Linked DNA regions of Homo sapiens: region 2 is linked to region 1. Evidence: promoter capture Hi-C in human tissues and cell types (Jung and others, 2019). All regions are on one chromosome and are shown on one strand. Each heading gives the region's core, a stretch centred on a gene start or on the middle of the fragment in contact. The rest is flanking DNA. Distances are from core to core; before and after follow the strand shown. Region 1 holds the start of FAM90A1 (family with sequence similarity 90 member A1). Region 2 has its middle 10 kb from the start of FOXJ2.

Region 1 (2,700 bases), core at 145-2,644:
TTGTTTTTGTGTTTTGTTTTGTTTTAAAAAATGTGGTAAAATAGACACCTTTTAATTGGACCATATTTACTCTATCTCGACGTAGGCCTCCGTGTCATCATGGAGATTCTCCTTGACATGCAGTCACGGCCATGATCCATCTTCAGAGCTTCTCTTTCTTCCCCACGGTAGGTCTGTCAGCAGAGAACCCTGACCACACACTCATGTGTTTTCTCCTCCAGAATGCGCTTGGAAACCACCGTGAATTGGAGCGCACTGGGAAACACAGATGAAGAAAGTCAACACCGCTTTGTCCTTCAGTGCCTGGCTCCCTTTTCAGCTGGTCTTGAGACTCCAGGCATTGGAGTCCAGGGAGGGGCACGCCGCCTTTACCTTGTGCTTCCCACGATCTTGTCTCCTTAATCCCCACTGCAGCTCTCTGCCATAGGGTCTTATACTGCTTTACATGTGGGAAACTGAAGCTCAGAGGGTTTCACAGCAGGGCAGGGAGCCCAGATGTGAATCTGTACATACCAAGCTTTCTAATTTTTCAGTAGTTTCCAAGCATCTTTTTTTTTTTCTTGTTTCTTCATTGATGTCTTTTTTTTTTTTTTTTTTTTTTTTTGAGACACAGTCTCTGTCGCCCAGGCTGGGGTGCAGTGGTGTGATCTCAGCTCACTGCAACCTCCGCGTCTCACAGTCAAGCAATTCTCATGCCTCAGCCTCCCGAGTAGCTGGGACTACAGGTGCCCACTACACCCAGCTTATTTTGGTATTTTTAGTAGAAACAGGGTTTCACCATGTTGGCCAGGCTGGTCTTGAACTCCTGACCTCAGGTGATCCACCTGCCTTGGCCTCCCAATATGCTGGAATTATTGATATGAGCCATTGTGCCCGGTCATGTCATTGTTGCCTTAACCAAGCCTCTTTTAATTTTTCAAACGGAAGAGCCCCTGTCCCTCAGTTACTGCTGCTGAGCCCTTTCAAGATGACTCAGTGAGGAGGGGGAAAAGCAGAAGCGGTGTGGGAAGAGGCGGGGTCTGGGCCAGCTGCTGGTCCTGCTCTCCTCCCTCCTTTGGCCTCTAGGCTCCCAGGAGTGGTTTGGAACCTGCGCCGTGTGCTCTGGGGGCTGTGGCAGGGCAGGGGCGGCTTGGAACCTGCGCCATGTGATCTGGGGGCTGTGTCAGGGCAGCGGGAGTCCTCGTGTCCCCTGCGCACAACACAGACAGAAGGCTGGGTCCACCCAGTGGGCGGTCGGGTGCCAGGCCAGTGCTTACCCCGCCATGTTTTCAAGCCCGAGGCCAGCTGGCTGCAGGTGCAGGGCTATGCGTCAGGGGTCAGGGTGCACACATCCCTGCAGGTCTCGGGGCTCCTGGGTTGCTTCTGGAAGGGCCCGGATGGGGCCTGACTGGAGCTGCCGAGGGGTGGAGCTTCTGGGAAAAGGATCCCTCCTAGGGGGAGTGTCTTGGGCCTGGGGCCACGTGGCACGGAGAGAGACGGGTCCATGGCAGTGTCTGCTTTTCTCTGTGAAGGCAAAGGGCCTCTGAGGGAGTATTACAGCCGCCTCATCCACCAGAAGCATTTCCAGCACATCCAGGTCTGCACCCCCTGGCTGGAGGGCCGAGGACTACCCCCGCTTCTAGGTGAGAGGCCAGCAGGAGGCTCAGGGAGGACGCGGGGCCTTAAGCAGGGGGAACAGGGGTGGGCAGGATGTACTTTTTTCAGAAAAGGTGGCTCTGGAGGCCACTTGGGGACAGGACCTGGGCTCTAGCTGAACTCCCGGGAGGAGGCTACTTCCTGGTGTGCCAGCCCCTCCCTGCCAGGTGGCCCCAGAGGCCCTTTACCAAGGGGTTTGAGGAGGCCACGTCCTTTCAGTCTGCCACGCCCTCCATTCAGTCCTCTTCCTTCCTGCAGGAGGGCTGGGCCTGGGGTTGGGGCCACTGTTGCCCAGGTGTGGGAGGGCAGTGGCTTTGGGAGGTACAGGGACGATGTGTCAAACAGCGTCGCCTCTCCCAGTGCGATGGTTCTCCTTTGCCTCCGTCTCTTTCCGCGTTGATTTCTCCAAGTGGGGAGTCGTGGCTTGGTCCTGATGCGTCTCTAGAGCCGCATCTTCCAGCTTCGAGTGAGCAGAGCAGTTGGAGTCTGAGGGCCTTTTCCTGGCAGGATTCTCCAGCTAGTCTTTGTTTTAGACAGTCTTGCTCCGTTGCCTAGGCTGGAGTGCACGATCTCAGTTCATGCAACCTCCGCCTCCTGGGTTCAAGCGATTCACCCACCTCAGCCTCCCAAGTAGATTACAGGATTACAGGAGCCCGCCACAACACCTGGCTTATTTTTGTATTTTTAGCAGAGACAGGGTTTCACCATGTTGGCCAGGCTGGTCTTGAACTCCTGACCTCAAGTGATCCTCTCGCCTTGGCCTCCCTAAGTGCTGAGATTCCAGGCCTGACCCATCATGCCTAGCCCCAGCTAGTCTTTAGAAATGTTAAGCTATTTGGCTTTATTTTCACACTGACAGCTGGTTTGTGGTGGGTGTGATGTGGTTTATTATTATTATTATTATTATTATTATTATTTTGAGACGGAGTTTCGCTCTTGTTATTATTATTATTATTATTATTATTATTATTATTATTATTATTTTGAGACGGAGTTTCGCTCTTGTAGCCCAGGCTGGAGTGCAATGGCGCGATCTTGGCTCACTGCAACCTCTGCCTTCCCGGG
Region 2 (2,700 bases), core at 97-2,596, 210 kb before region 1:
TAGTAGAGACAGGGTTTCACCATGTTTGCCAGGCTGGTCTTGAACTCCTGACCTCGTGATCCGTCCGCTTCAGCCTCCCAAAGTGCTGGGATTACAGGTGTAAACCACCGTGCCTGGCCCATAATTTCTTTGTTTGTTTGTTTGTTTGTTTGGGAAGGAGTCTCGCTCTGTCACCCAGGCTGGAGTACAATGGCGTGGTCTCGGCTCACTGCAATCTCCACCTCCCGGGTTCAAGCGATTCTCCAGCCTCAGCCTCACGAGTAGCTGGGATTACAGGCACTGCCATCACGCCCGGTTTATTTTTGTATTTTTGGTAAAGACGAGGTTTCACCATCTTGATCAGGCTGGACTTGAACTCCTGACCTCAGGTGATCCACCCACCTTGGCCTCCCAAAGTGCTGGGATTACAGGCATGAGCCACTGCGCCTGGCCCCTTCCCTCTTAAATATTAATATTTACTTGTAGTACTAATTTTAATTAGTTATAAATGAAGGCCCAGTGGTCAAGTGACTTGTTCAGAATTGTTCAGTAAGTCCGAAGCAGGCTGGACAAGAAGCTAAGCTTTCTCCTTACTATGGCAGAGATCTCACATTACCTCAGTGGCTTCAGAGCCCTGTCATACTGGCCAAAGTGTTCACTCAGAAAGGACAGGACAAAGTAGTACTTTTCTTGATGTTAAATGTATTTAGTTATTAAATTCTGAGACTGAAACTTTCCTTTTTTAATTTTAAATTTTTTGGGGGGGCAGTATTGCTCTGTCGCCCAGGCTGGAGTGCAGTGGTGTGAACTTCTGGGCTGAAGCGATCCTCCTACCCAAGTTGGCCAAGTAGCCGGAACGACAGGCATCACCACCACACCTAGCTAATTTTTTTGTTAAATTGTATTTTTTTGTAAAGACAAGTCTCGCCATGTTTCGTAGGCTGGTCTCGAATTGCTGAGCTCAAGCAATCCTCACCCTCCCAAAGTGCTGGGATTATGGGCATGAGCCACTGCACCCAGCCCTGAGACTATAACCTTCCTGTCTTTCTGGTGGAAGGTTTTAATTAATATTAAAATGTTGATTCTTTTATAAAATGATGGGCATAGTAGACTTTAGTTGGTAATTAATGTCTTTACCTGAAAATATAAAAAGTTCTGTGCTCTCTCATATTTCCCCACTGGTTTATAAAATGAAAAAGTTTAGAACAGACTTTTGCTTCATTCTTATGCTGCTTCTGGTTCAACATCCTTTTGTTTCATTCTACATTTTATTTGTTACTAAGAAAATCTGTGGGGTTTTTTTTTCTTTTTTTCTTTTTTTTTGAGCCAAGGCCTTGCTCTGTTGCCCAGGCTGGAGTGCAGTAGTGATCCTTCCACCTCAGCCTCCTGTGTAGCTGGGACCACACCACTGTAAGCCACCTGGCCCGGCTTATTTATTTATTGACATAGGGTCCACTTTGTCACCCAGGGTGGAGTGCAGTGGAACATACACAGCTCCACTGCAGCCTCGACCTCCCAGGCTCAAGCAATCCTCCCACTTCAGTCTTCTGAGTAGCTAGGACTACAGACATGAGCCACCACGCCCTGGAGGGAAATCTTTTAAATGTAGATCCATATATTCTTGTAGTGGATATAGGTGACCCATGTTCTATTTCCTTTATATACCTTCCTCTGCAGAGACTGGAAAACCAAAAACTATACTTTCCAGATTTTTTCGCAACTAGGATTCTAGTTGTAAATTGTGGATCTATCAATAATTTGCACACATAAGAAACTTGAAAAGTGGAAGCCAGGCTGGGGTCAGCTGCTGGCCGCTTTGGCTGTTGCTGCTGGTCAGCAGAGTCATGGGAATGCTGGGTTTTTCTGCAGCAGTGTTCCAATGTCTATTCACTAGTTCCACGGCTGTTTTTTTTTGTTTGTTTTTGTTTTTGAGAAGGAGTCTCGCTTTGTCACCCAGGCTGGAGTGTGGAGTGCAGTGACACGATCTCAGCTCACTGTAACCTCTGCCTCCCAGGTTCAAGCGATTCTCCTGCCTCAGCCTCCCAAGTAGCTGGGATTACAGGTGCCCGCCACCACACCCGGCTAATTTTTGTATTTTTAGTGGAGATGGGGTTTTACCATGTTGGCCAGGCTGGTCTCGAACTCCTGACCTCAGGTGATCCACCTGCCTCGGCCTCCCAAAGTGCTGGGATTACAGGTGTGAGCCACTGTGCCCGGCGTTTCATGGCTGTTGAAAGGTGCTGAGGCTGTGTTAGCAACAGTAGCTGCCCAATTCCTTGATCACAACTAGGGCAGTAAGTTCTCCTTTTTTTCTTTATTTTTAATTTTTTTTCTTTCCATACTCATGTCAGTACAGGGGCATGTGTTCCTGAACTCAACAGCTGCAGCAATACAGTCTTGATTTCTCATCTTTCTAAAGCTTTCCTGGTGGGTGAATTTAGCAGCCTCATTCTTGGAGCCATTTCTGATATACAGCAGAAACCCCCTTTCTCCAGTACTTCCAACGATTTTGTAAGCACATTAAGCCCCAGTATTAAAGCCTTTCCTACTTAAGTGGTTTCTAGTTACTGCAGCCAGCCCTGACAGATCTAATACCTGATTGAGCAGTAGCCCACTGCCCTTTTCTTCTTTTTCTTCTTTCCATAAATGCCAAAGGCAATGCAACCCAGTGCTTTCATCCCTGGTCTTTTGAGGCCTGGTGTTTGTTTCTTGGGCTTCCAG

The links. The method cuts DNA at HindIII sites, captures the fragments that hold promoters and counts their contacts. A contact is called where the count stands out against the background at its distance.
Region 2: a contact is called between a fragment that was not itself captured here and the fragment with the promoter of FAM90A1 in region 1, in 1 of the 25 tissues and cell types used here (spleen).

Annotation. Positions count from the first base shown.
Region 1 is chr12:8,226,224-8,228,923 of GRCh38, forward strand. FAM90A1 (family with sequence similarity 90 member A1) reads right to left here and starts at 1,395. Exons shown (of 7, transcript NM_018088.3): 1 at 1,257-1,395; 2 at 49-255. It also overlaps the pseudogene ALG1L10P. RefSeq lists an enhancer at 957-1,006. The HindIII fragment of the contact is 5,625 bases long and covers 223-2,700 here.
Region 2 is chr12:8,021,211-8,023,910 of GRCh38, forward strand. No RefSeq gene overlaps it. Among named protein-coding and RNA genes, the nearest start is that of FOXJ2, 10 kb to the right of the region's middle. The HindIII fragment of the contact is 5,712 bases long and covers 1-2,700 here.